Linked DNA regions of Homo sapiens: region 2 is linked to region 1. Evidence: promoter capture Hi-C in 16 types of primary human blood cells and fetal thymus (Javierre and others, 2016). All regions are on one chromosome and are shown on one strand. Each heading gives the region's core, a stretch centred on a gene start or on the middle of the fragment in contact. The rest is flanking DNA. Distances are from core to core; before and after follow the strand shown.

Evidence for each region. Contacts are between HindIII fragments. The CHiCAGO score rates a contact against its expected background, and 5 or more counts as called.
Region 2: a contact is called between a fragment that was not itself captured here and the fragment with the promoter of CER1 in region 1, in 1 of 17 cell types (M2 macrophages). The highest score is 7.4, in M2 macrophages.

What each region holds. Positions count from the first base shown.
Region 1 is chr9:14,717,889-14,724,639 of GRCh38, reverse strand. CER1 (cerberus 1, DAN family BMP antagonist) reads left to right here and starts at 1,907. Exons shown (of 2, transcript NM_005454.3): 1 at 1,907-2,474; 2 at 4,254-4,916. The coding sequence starts at 1,968. The coding sequence ends at 4,550. RefSeq lists enhancers at 882-1,819, 1,820-2,759. The HindIII fragment of the contact is 2,921 bases long and covers 1-1,952 here.
Region 2 is chr9:13,435,065-13,441,928 of GRCh38, reverse strand. LOC105375977 (a long non-coding RNA gene) reads right to left here and starts at 1,194. Exons shown (of 4, transcript XR_929484.3): 1 at 933-1,194; 2 at 648-750. The HindIII fragment of the contact is 2,380 bases long and covers 1,749-4,128 here.

The sequences.
Region 1 (6,751 bases), core at 658-3,157:
GTATAGCATTGGATGGCTGAGGGGAATTAAGAAATTCAAGTAGCAGTCAATTAAAAAAAAAAAGATGTTGACATAGCATGGTGGCTCACGCCTGTAATCCCAGCACTTTGGGAGGCAGAGGCAAGATGGTGGCTCAAGGCTAAGAGTTTCAGAGCAGCTTGGGCAACAGAGTGAGGCTCTGTTTCAACAACAACACAAAATTTTAAATAGCCAGGTGTGGTAGTGTGCCTGTAGTCCCAGCTACTCAGGAGGCTTGCTTGAGCCTAGGAGTTTGAGGTTACAGAGTGCTATGATTGCACCACTGCACTCCAGACTGGGCAACAGAGCAGAACCCTTTTCCTAAAATAAAAAAAAACAATGGCAAATACACATGCTTATTTATTATATATCAACAGCACCTTTCATTAATACTAGCACACGTTCCATAGATATTTGGTACAAGTACAATATATCTCCACTCATGGCATTCTGGTAAAGTGATGGTCCATGTTAAAAATAGCTCATTATCATGGGTAAAGGGACTTACTTAAGGCTTTATTTCATAGAAATCAGGCATGGCTATCAAGAAGAACAGAAATGCCTGGAAAACAGACTCCAGTGGGTCACTTCTTGGAAAGAAAGTTTAATCAGTATTGACAAAAAAGGGGGAACATGTTCCAGGACTATTTGTGTTATTGAAAGCAAGGAATATAGTGATTGAATTAAAAGGGGAGAAATAAAAGCAGATATTGCATTGCTTCCCAGTGGAAATACTGTTTGAATCATGTGGTAGGCTGATCGGACTCTATTCTGGGGTTTCAGTTTTCTGGACGTGTTTCTTTTTCGTATCCTAGGCTGATTCATGATAGTTTTGAATGATAGTTATTTTTCAATTTTTCCTTTGATCCCCGAAGACTCTTATTTGTGTCAATCTTTATTTAGCCTGGCCATCAATTAGTGTAAAACAAGGGGAGATGATGTGGATTCAATAAGGTAAGAAACTGACTAGCCAGCGTCACACACAAAGTTATCAAACCTGGTTCTTAGAATCCACGTTCTCATGTCTGGCTCTTTGTTCAAAGGGAAAAAAAAATCAATAGGATGGCTGGAGGGAGACATTTCCCTATCCTCATTGAAGACTGATGAGCTGTCAGTCTATTACGTGGTATCCTGTTGAGGAACATGTGAACAATTGGAAGAGTTTATCTGATGACTGACCAGTTGTGAAATTTAGCACCCATTAATTGATTCTTAATGTGAGAGGATTAACTTGGGAATTGTGAGTTTCTACGTGTGGAAAGGAAAACATATTCCCTTTACTCAGTTACTGTGCAAAAATCAATAACCCCAATTTGCATGTAAGTAAGAAACAATATGTCCCTTGCTCAAAAAAATTAACATCCTTCTAGCTCTTCCTTTCTTCTCCTTACAACTTTGATATACTTCTTCGTGTGTGTGTGTGTGTGTGTGTGTGTGTGTGTGTGTGTGTGTGTGTGAATAGCCTTCCTAAAGGCCTGGGCTTTTTCTAAATGTATGCCTTTAATTTTTATCCAAAAACTTCTCTTACAGCAACATGTCTTGTCTATTCTATTCCAGCACAAGGCAGATGCACAGCAAATGTGAGCTGACTCTAGTCCTTCTTCTGAAAACAGCCATGGGAAATTTAGGCAAAGAATGTGTTGTCTTTGCTAATACTGCTCTTTAAGCCCCAGACATAGCTAAACTCTTAGCTAATTACCCCCTGGGTCCCAGGCTTTCACTGGGGCCTTTTAAAATACACAAAACCAAAGTGACGGCAGGAGGCCATTAGCACTACATAATTCAAGCAAACAATAAATGTGTTTATTCTGCCTGGCTACTGACCACCTGCCTTCCCATCCCGCCAGGCAGGTATCTATATATACGATTTCCTTTTTCCCAGTCCTGCAGAGAATGAGCCTCTCCTTTGGGCCTCATCATTTACAAAAGAAGCTTGGGCCCCTGACAGCATGCATCTCCTCTTATTTCAGCTGCTGGTACTCCTGCCTCTAGGAAAGACCACACGGCACCAGGATGGCCGCCAGAATCAGAGTTCTCTTTCCCCCGTACTCCTGCCAAGGAATCAAAGAGAGCTTCCCACAGGCAACCATGAGGAAGCTGAGGAGAAGCCAGATCTGTTTGTCGCAGTGCCACACCTTGTAGCCACCAGCCCTGCAGGGGAAGGCCAGAGGCAGAGAGAGAAGATGCTGTCCAGATTTGGCAGGTTCTGGAAGAAGCCTGAGAGAGAAATGCATCCATCCAGGGACTCAGATAGTGAGCCCTTCCCACCTGGGACCCAGTCCCTCATCCAGCCGATAGATGGAATGAAAATGGAGAAATCTCCTCTTCGGGAAGAAGCCAAGAAATTCTGGCACCACTTCATGTTCAGAAAAACTCCGGCTTCTCAGGGGGTCATCTTGCCCATCAAAAGCCATGAAGTACATTGGGAGACCTGCAGGACAGTGCCCTTCAGCCAGGTATGTGTTCTGGGGGGAGAGCAGGTAAGAGTTTGCAGGTGGTAGTGGACAGCTGGGATGGATGGAGAGTAGGGGAAAAGGCTGTCAGGAGCCTGACTCTAGCTTAACTACAGATTTGGTCCTTGGGCATTCATCATAGGATTTGGCAAAGATTAAGTTTCCTTCTGGCCTTTCCATTTTTTCTTGGCATTGTGGAAATGCTGCAAGAATGATATGATGATACTGTCAATATCAGTAATCATTCATTCACACTGAAGACACAGAGCTCTGTTTTATTTATTTATTTTTGCATTGGAGGTGATCTACTCAGAGATATAAGTCAGACTGTACCCTCAGTTAGGAAACTGAGAATTTAGAGTAATCACCAGAACTCCTCTGTAGCTATCTTTCTGCACTCTATTAATATGTGGATGAGCAGGTCAACTCCATTTGTTGATAAAGTGGGGTGCATTGGACTCCTTCCCAAATACTCTCATATCCATTTACGATGGTCTTAATCCCCATAGTCCATACTTAATTACTTTATAGGTTTATGAGGGACTTCTTTAATAGCTTGCTAAAGCTATCCCACAACCTCAAAGTACGTTGAGGTTCTCAGGCAAAAGTTGTCATATCATTTCTAGTATTATGATAGCAAAAAAGTGATTTTCTTTCACTTATTTTCTCATATGAGCTTTTTAAAAAATCAATCTTGATGTGAGATCATATCTCCTCCCCTTAGAAGTACCTTTCTCCTGATTCATGTTGTGTTGGCTGATTTGTAGTTATTATGATCAATTCCATGCTATTAAGACAAAGGGACATCCTACTGTCTACTTCCTCTGGCAATATCTACATTCCAAATGTTAAATTAAAATTGAGAACTTGCATTAGGTCCTTAAACATGAAGATATTGAACCAAAAACATGCAGGGTAGAGTAAAATTTTATAGTCGAGTAATGCTACCCAATTAAGCAAGCAATAGAATAGGGCAATTGACTGTTCAAGGCAGTTAAGTATTCTGCCTGAAAAGGCAAGGATATGTAGCAATGGCAAGTCAATTATCAAATAATAATGACTACTCTGTTGGCCATGTGCAATTAGAAAATTACCCCTAAGAATCAGGCAATCAAATTTCTTTTGAAATTCTTCTTTTGAATTCTATTGCTAATTAAATTAAAACTAAGATGTTTGACTCTTACATATTTTGAAAGGCATATAAAGCTAGGTGCTTGGAGTTATGAGAGGTAAAGGTGATGTAATATACAATGATTTGCAGGCATATGCATTGTAACTCTGCTTGCATACAACTTCATAGACTTGAATGTACTACAGGTCTTGCAGAATAGGATAGAATTAAACCTAGAATGTTCTGATCTATTCTACGATCAATGTAACAAATATGTATTGGGAGCCTACTATGCACAAAGCCCTGTGAGGAATAAAAAAGTAAGGCACATTACTTATGTAAGATAATTACCATTAGAATTTTTCAATCGCTCACATCCAATTAGACAAAATTGCTTAAGGTTTTGCACGAATAATGTAGAGTAAAATATTTTTTATGTTAACTTAGGGATTCCCTAAAGGCTGTTTAATAATTTACTCAATAAAGAAAATTTAATTGAGGTGGTTCTGTGCCCTTATAGATACCATCACTTGCATATTGCAAATTGTATCCAAAATTGGAAAGCTTTGAAATTTTTAAATTATCCTCAGATTTACAGTCCATAGCTTCTGCATTATGTGTGTTAAAGAAATAATTCAAAATAACGTAATGGAAATGTGTTTGCTTTTTAGACTATAACCCACGAAGGCTGTGAAAAAGTAGTTGTTCAGAACAACCTTTGCTTTGGGAAATGCGGGTCTGTTCATTTTCCTGGAGCCGCGCAGCACTCCCATACCTCCTGCTCTCACTGTTTGCCTGCCAAGTTCACCACGATGCACTTGCCACTGAACTGCACTGAACTTTCCTCCGTGATCAAGGTGGTGATGCTGGTGGAGGAGTGCCAGTGCAAGGTGAAGACGGAGCATGAAGATGGACACATCCTACATGCTGGCTCCCAGGATTCCTTTATCCCAGGAGTTTCAGCTTGAAGAGCTATCCCACTATTACCTTTGAAAAGCAAAACCACAACAGCAAAGATGCTGATTATTCAGTCTGAAAATGTTAAGTGGGTACATAACATTTTCAGGGAAAGGTGACTTGAAACGTAGTTTTAAATTAGAACGATAGAGGAAATGATATTAGTCTAGTTATTGGTACACGTTTGAGACCTTGTCTCAGCTCTGCCACTAACTAGCCGTAGAATGTTAAGTTGTAAAACCTTTCTCCATCTAAAGATTTTCATCTATAAATGACGGACCCGACCTAGATGATTGCTAAAATCCTTTCCACTACTAATATTCCGTGATGCATTTTCTCCAAGTTTGGGTAAAAGCCCTCCATCTAAAGAAGGAAAAGAAATAAGCGAGACCATAAAAATGGGCTTCTTTAATGTGTGTCAAATCACCAGCAAGCAAAGAAGCAAGATAGAGAGGGAGGAAGGAAGGAAGGAAGGAAGGAAAGAAGGAAGGAAGGAAGGAAGGAAGGAAGGAAGGAAGGAAGGAAGGAAGGAAGGAAGGCAGGCAGGCAGGCAGGCAGGCAGGCAGGCAGGCACGCAGGCAGGCAGGGAGGCAGGCTACGTGAAATATTTGTAGGAAAGATTCTCATACTTATAGTTACTTTTGCAACCCAAACAGTGTTTTACTTGACTTCTATCTGATGATTAAGTCTTTCCACAGATGTAAGGAGTAACTTGCTTGGTTGCCTCCTTTTTAACAATACTCCTCATATAAAGTACTTAATGTCAGGTCTCTGACTTTGAAGAAGGAACAGTGATGTTAATTTTAGTAGTTTATATAGGGAAGAGGAACAATCACTGGTAGCCAAACAAGTACCTATATTATGAGGAAGGAAAAATACATGACTACTACCAGGTTTAGAGATCAATCCAGAGATGCTAATGAAAGTAACCCCCAAAAATTCAATCTTCAGGCAAAATTATTTACTCACATGCATTTTGAATTAGGTAGTAAGGTTTCTATGTTTGAATGACTGTTTTTTGCTATTTAATAAAACTTTGTATTATAAATTTTATTCAGCAAGTACCAAAATTACAGGTTCTGAAAATATTCTGGATATTTTAATGCATTAAATTTTAGTATATGAAGCATTCTGAAAAATGTTCTTATATTTTTCCCTTACTTGTTTTGTCTCATAATTTAAAGGTACTATCAGGAGATAACCTAGCTGGAAGCATTTCTGGAATGTCTTCATAGACTTATGACACTGGACCAAGGGTTTCTTCTGATCTGTAAGCAGCCTTCTGTTTAAGTCTCTCAATCACCTCTCTCCTGTCTGTGTTAATTTTTACACATATATGGTACAGAACTGCCTTTTCCCAGCCAGACTGCTTTTTCTATTAAGTTATTCAAATTTTTGTTCCTAAAAATTATTTTAATAATTAGGTTTCTTTTACTTTTAGTGCACACACATACACACATTTCCCAGAATAACTGTTTTTTTTAAATAAATCAATTTATATTTTAATTCTATTCCTCTTTAATCACACCATCTAACATGACATTCCAAAGAAGCAAAGGCATTTATATTTAGTGTATATTTTGTAACACATCAACATGAATGTGAGTTACACAGATGCACACATGGCATTTACATTGGAATATATTATCATACCCTTTGGTGGTCAAAGGCAACCTAGCTGGCCAAGATATGCTCATAAGGATAAAATTGTTAAGCATTAATGATATCTCAGCTGGTCAATATATTTTGGTGCCAAAAGCTATCAAACAGCTGTCATGATTGCAATCGCCTAACCCTGATTATGAAAACCTATCTCTGCCAATTGGACTGTCCTTCTCCTCCTTACATGCTTGTAAATCCGTTTCATCCATCCTTGCAAATAGACTCTCAAGCCCAAACCCCAAACAATGATCTGTTTTATTCAAATTTTGGTCTGCGCTTCCCTTGCATGTAAATTCTAGATGGGATAGTTGATAGTGGTATCAAACCTTACATTTATAGAATAATTGCATGAAATTCAACAAAATTGCTCATATTCAATCATTTTTACTTACAAAAAAGGCAATTTACAAAGGTTGAACATAATATGTAAGACTGTAAGAAACCAAGAGGAAAAACACAAATATTGAACATTTATTAAGTGCCAGATACTGTGCTGTCTTTTACAAGAAGTTAACAATTTAATCCTCACAAAAACTATATAAAGTAGGTT
Region 2 (6,864 bases), core at 1,689-4,188, 1.3 Mb after region 1:
TTTTTTCAAAAGTGGATACTCTATGCATGACTGTTTGTTAACTTAATTGGCCAGAATATGTTAACAATCTGAGTATTGCTCACTCCTTCCCAGAGAAACGCCCTCTATGTGGTAGATCTTAACGTATACACAGAAACTGATTAATTTTTTAAAAAAGTTTCCTGTGTACATAGCTAACTATATGAAAGGTATAAAATGGGCATGTGTGGTTTTTGATGAATTTTTGGTTTCTAATCAATAATCCAAAGATGTAGACTTTTTTTAAAAGTAAAGCAGATTAATAGGAATAAGTTATTCTATGTGTGGGCAGAATTAAATAACATGTAGCATATCTGTGTACTTAAAAGGATGGACTCAGGAGTTGGATTATATGAAATCAAATCCTAGTTACGTGACTTAACACCTGTGTGAGTTTGGGCAAGTTACTCAATCTCACCATATGTCAGTTTATCCATCTGTAAAATGGGAATAATGATAATACCTCCCTCATAGTCTTATGAAAAGAACTATATGAATTAGTAAATAAAAAGCACTTAAAACAATGGCTGGTATATAATAAGTATTCAAAAATATTTACTGCCTTAATAATCAACATCATATTATTATCTAATAAATCCAGTATGTTACTAGTAGATCTTTCTGCTTACCAGTTGACCCAGGATCTAGAAGTCCTGGATTTCAGATGCAGCTTCCCCACTGATCAACTGGCTCTGTGATCTTCATTTAGTCACAGTTTCCTGCTTTCTTTACCTATAAAAGTAGGGAAAGTTGAGAGATCATTTATAAGTCTGGTTATCTATTATAACATAAATCTTTAAAAGTAATTCAAAAGTTTCCTGAAGATGTCTATTGATACTACAAAGAAAAAAGTGACACGGAGGAACTGAAGACCAGGGCAGAAGAACTGAGAAGTGTGAAAGTTGTTTCAGCACCTCATGTTGGAGAGAATTTGCCTCCTACATGTAATGCCACTATGTCCAGTCAAGGTGCCACAGAATGAAATACTGGGACCACCACACAGCTGAGTGTAACTATGTCCTAAGGCTGCATTCGCAATCCCTAGTCACAATTCCTCGCTCTCTCAGAACAACGGTGTCTAAGAGTTCTGCAGTTCCAACCCTGGTTTGTGACAGACCACAGACGTGTGTTCAGGGATATATGGCTTCCTCTCTGTGGACAATCAAACTTCTTGGCTCTCCAGAGTATTTTAATCCCTTCCATAGAATAAGTTAATCATTTTTTTTTTTTTAACCAAGGCACAGAAGTGCATGGAGTTTTTCTCTTGGGAGCTGAAGTTATGCCTTTCCCCTGCCTACTGTCCTCAATATCAACACCATTCAGAACGAAGTGCTTCTCAGCTGAAGTCTTCGTAGAAGTAAAATACCCAGGCACTACAAAGGTTCTTTAGCACCAAAGACTTTTATGGATGAGTGTTGAAAATATTTAATATTCTATCTGCTTAATGGTAAATAACACAGAACAATTCTGAGCACTTAGCCTGAGCCAAGCTACTTTCTAAATGCTTTCCGTATATTAATTCATGTGCTCCTTACCAAACCCTATATGGGCATTTTTATCACATCTCAGACAGCAAACATGATAAAGCATTTAAGATCACATTGTGGGGAAGCTTGTGAAGAATGTAAGCTTCCTCTTACTTGAGAACCCAGAGTCCTAGCAGCCACACCATGACCTAACTCCAGCAATAAACACAAACAACACATTTTACAAGCAAAGCCAAAAAAGCTTTCCAACCAGATATTAGGATTTATGACTATTAAATCAGACTATAATATACATCTATTTGTCACCAGCTAGTTTAATTCTTTACTATTTGAATTGTGATTTCACATCTTGTTCTGATTTGAATTTCCCAATGACCTTGGGAAATAAGAAAAACCTGGATTTTTAAAAAGTACATGTTAGCCTTGTTAGCCTTTCCTTCTCTTGCCTATAATTCCTATTTTAGATCATTTCTAAGGAAACTAACCTTCTAATACTTACATACTAGCCAGCTGTAATACTAGCAAGAAAATCCACTAGCTCCTCTAAGAATACTAAGCCCGGATCCTCCAAATTTGGTAATAGAGACTCTCCCCCTGGGATGGATCTCTGAGCCTCTATTTGTGTTGTATTAGATAAGTCTGTATTACTCTACTGCTGTCACCTGCTAGTTCAATTAATAAAAGCAAATCTAGCCCCCTCGAATGTGGCCAAGGAATGAGTAATTCCTTCACAGAGGGGACAGCCCTGCTGGACCTACGTTATAGTTGCCCAATCTGGCCATCCTACCTATATTTTAATTCTCCCTGCATTGTCATCCTTAGAGGACTGACATTCTATTTTATTAAGGCAGGCAAAAAAGAACAGGGAAACATAGAATGCTTAGGCCAAAAAAAGAAAAGGGAAGCACATTGTGATTTAACACTGTGAATGACTTTTGAAATAGTAAATGGAGTTGAAGCTAAAGATTACCTCTGAATACAGCTCTATATTTTCTCCAACAAAAATAAACAGATATAAATGTGTACATCCAAAATATATTTTAATATATATTTTAATTTTTTCAATCTTCGCTACAAGAAAACAAATGACCGTGCCAACAGCATTAAGCAGAATTAACAAAAATTATGGTTCCCTGTTGCAAAATCAACTATAGCTCCACATATAAATGTCCTTGTCATCCAGTCTGGAATGGTTTAAAGCAAGACATTTGTTACCAAAATCTTGATCACCATTATAAAATCTTAGAAGTTCAATATTTAGCTAAAGGAATTCCAGATTACACCAGAAATAATGTGATATATGCATGCACACTGCATCTTGTAGCATTATAAGATAGTATAAATCACATGCAGCCAAGTCCAAGTATTTCAAGACCAGAATTTTTTATTCATTTCTTCACTTGAAACATTAACTTTAGAAGTTAGGTCAAATGTCTTTGAATCCTACCTCCACCATTTAAAAGCAAGCTGAATTAAGGATAATTATATAAATGTTTGGGGCCTCAGTTTACTTTTTACTTATCTTTAAAATGTATAATTTCTGCCCGCGAGTTGCAAGGCAGTATTAAAGAAAATGTATGCTTCATTCCCATCAGAGAGCATGGCTCAGCGTAGGTGCTCTATAAATAGTCTAGCTTCTATTTTAATAATTAGCTCTACCTTACATTCTCTGAATTTCTGTATCTGTTGCTGATATCATCTCAATTCCAGTTAAGTCCTTCCTGATTAAACAGTTCTTCCTTGGCTAGGGATCAAATAATCAAGTGCAAAAAAACTACAAAGAAAATTAGAGCATAAGAAGTGAGAAAGAGATGATCAAGGGGAGAAAATTGGGCGATCTCTTATTGTATTCCTGAAACTGATATTCAAGGGCTAGGGGAGCACAATGCCATGGTTTTGGTTTCAGCATTAAGAGGCGGCATATTGCCATGCAACTCAAGAAAAGGAGACATGGTATTCTGTTCTTGGTTGTAGAAGAGGCCTTGGTCAATATGACTCTCTGGAAAATATACAAATATGTACAATTCTAATTCCCTTTTAAGCAACGAATGTTTATGCTCATGAAAAAAAGCCTGTAGGCATTGACTTGATTTCCCTACAAAACAAACAAAGTCATCCTGAAGATGATTTTGTTGTTATTATTGAGTAGATTAACTTCAACTCACCCATCTGAATGCATGATACTCCAGCATATCCTTGAAAAAACTCACTATAATTCAGGGGAAATCTTGTACAATAGGCCTCTCTCAAAAATTGTGCAATGTGCCAATTTTCCCATTGTCAGGGTGGGTGGGAAATAGTGTGTGGGTGTGTCCCTAGACAAGCAACCTAAGAAGAGAGCAGGAGAAAGCTGAGACACAGATGGCGAATGTCTGGGCTATCCTTCCTGACACAAGTGTGTTTGTGACTGGCTCTGTCTCCCATGCAATGGCTTCAGCTGGATATGTGCCTGGTGCATTACATATGACAGAGGGAATGGAGAAGTTGTTTCCCATAGAGAGTATGAAGTTTAGAAGACAAAGTGAATCTGTAGGGGAAACTTCCAGGTCTGTGCTATCCTGGAAACATACCATACCATATCCTATTCAGCTAATAGGAGAGTCTCAAACTACTCTAAGAAGCTTTCTTTAAAGGAAATCTTATACATGTTTTCTCACTGGAATGGGGCAGGGCAAATAACATTTTCACTGTAATTAGAGAACATGTTTTCAATTTGCATAAGGAAGAGGAGTCAGGCTTAATCTGGGTGACTCCGAAACATGTCTTAGTGAATGTTACAGAGAGGGCAAATTCAGCTCAATAGAAAGAAATTTTTGACAATTAAATCTACCCAGGACTGGCGCAGTGGCTTACGCCTGTAATCTCAGCACTTTGGGAGATCGAGACAGGTGCATCACTTGAGGTCAGGAGTTCGAGACCAGCCTGGCCAACATGGCAAAACTCCATCTCTACTGAAAATACAAAAATTAGCCGGACATGATGGCGCGCACCTGTGGTCCCAGCTACTTGGGAGGCTGAGGGAGGAGAATCGCTTGAGCCCAGGAGGTGGAGGCTGCAGTGAGCCGAGATTGTGCCACTTCACTCCAGCCTTGGTGACAGAGCAAGACTCCATCTCAAAAAAAAAAAAAAAAGGAAAACTGGAATGCACTGGAGGAGCACATTAAGGATTTTCATACCTTGGAAAAGAGTTGAGCTAGAATCCTGAGATTCTATAAAAACGTTTGATAAAAGAATGGGAGAAGTCATGGTCTACGGGAACACTGAGAAGCAGAGTTGCATAAATTCTAAAGTAATACATGGAAAGCAACTAAACTGCTCTGCTTCTTCACCCCACAGTCCCACTCAAAAGCACTACCATAAATACATGAGCTCGGTGCCAAGAAGACAGGATTCCATACTGGGGACAGCTCTTACTCCAGTGACTTCAGGAGGAGGCTGGGTAGAAGGAAGACCCAGATGACAGTTAAGTCATAAGTTTCTAGTGGCCTAAAAACACACCACTTTTTTTTTTTTTAGCTCTGGTGGGATTCTGCCTATAGTTCTTGCAGGCCTCCTCTGTTGTTTTGCAGACTTCTAGACAGAGGGAGTTTTCTCCAATCTATAATCATAATTTAGTTGCTTTACGGCTCTTAAAGAGAATGACTCAGTGGAAATTATGCCAGAACTGTGCTTAATATCTTTCATAATAAGAACTGCTGATGGCTTCTGTTTCTAGGTTTTCATCATCTAAATGCCCTCTCCCATTTCTCCATGTGGCCATCTCTGCCTGAAACTTTAACTCTCATTCCTTGAACCCTTCCTTGGTCTTTGTATGAATCCCTACCTGGATGTTCTCCCTTCTCTGTGCTTCTACAGCACTAGACCCCCACTCTAGAACGTGGGACCAGGACCAGCTATGAAATTTGTGCAGCCAAAGCAAAATGAAAATGTGGAGCCCCTTGTTCATAAATTATTAAGAATTTCAAAATGGTGACACAGAACATTAAACAAAGTGTAGGGCCTGCTAGGCATAGGGCCCTTTGTAATTGCAAAATGACATGTCCATGGAGGCAACCCTACTCATGGCACTGTAATCAGTTTCTGTGTTACATAATATTTTGTGTGGACTTTGGGTTATTAATCACTCATCACCGTTTATTTTATAGTGGCATCCATAGTTCCCCCTTTCTCTGTCTCTCTCTGTCTCTTTCTCTTCTCCTCACTCTCTGACTTTCAATCTTGAGAACAAAAATACAAAAATAAGGAGGGAATTTTGAATGCATTTGTACACCAGCAGTGCCCTCCAAAACCGTTGAGAAGTTCCTGGTACCCAAATCCTTACATATATGCCTAGTTCTTCCTCTGTTTTCAAGCCTGATTCTCCAGTGTTCTAGTTGATCCTCTGAGTTTCTGTTGCCTGCAATCAAAGAACCCTGCAAGAGATAGGTGTATCGCATTCTCTCACTGAACTGTGATTCTTTGGTCTAATTAAAACTATAGCAGGCATGCATTAAATACTGCACACCAACCAAGTACAAAATACTTATGTATAGTATTTCATTTAATTTTCACAATGAGCTTTCAAGGTAGGTAATACTCTCCCTTTTCAGATGACAAAAATTATTTTCTGAGACATCAGTTAATTTTCTTAATGTCTTAGACACAGTTACTAGTTATGGGACCAAGATTTTCTCACTGACTTTTTCTAATTCCCAAGACCACATTTTCCCACAATGACTTATTTTTTCCATATCCTCATTGTCTAGCACATTCCTTGGCACATCATATTCCCAATAACTTTACAGTGAGTGAATAAACAGAGTAAGAAATATCCACGTCCATGTCTTCATTAGTTCATCACCAATATAAAATGGCCTACAATTATAAAGTCACATTTTTATCCTTTGCCTCTGTCATCATAAAATTTTATTTGCCATTTAGTACTATGAAAACATTGGCAGATCTATCATCTATTTCAAACATTGCCTTAGCATACCAATAATCTCGTTTATTTTATGATTGTTTCTGAGCTTAATTGTGACTGCCACTTTCAGATCAAAAGCACAATTACTAGCATGCATATATATCAATTATTGATGCTCAAGGAATAAACTAAACAACTTGAATTATGTTGGCCTCTATTTAAATAGAGGCATTCTCAAATTATTGCCCTTTACCCAGAAAAATAAGTGGAAGGTATAAAGGTGCGTAGAGGTTAATAGTTGGCCTAAAAATGTAATTGTGCCATTCTGCATAGCGTTGGCACAAGACATGCAGGTAGTAAGAGCAGTTTCAACTTCTATATGGGGTCTATATAACCATAGCATAAACAGAGGAAATACACTTGGCATGTAAAAACAAAATCCATAATTTTTCCCCT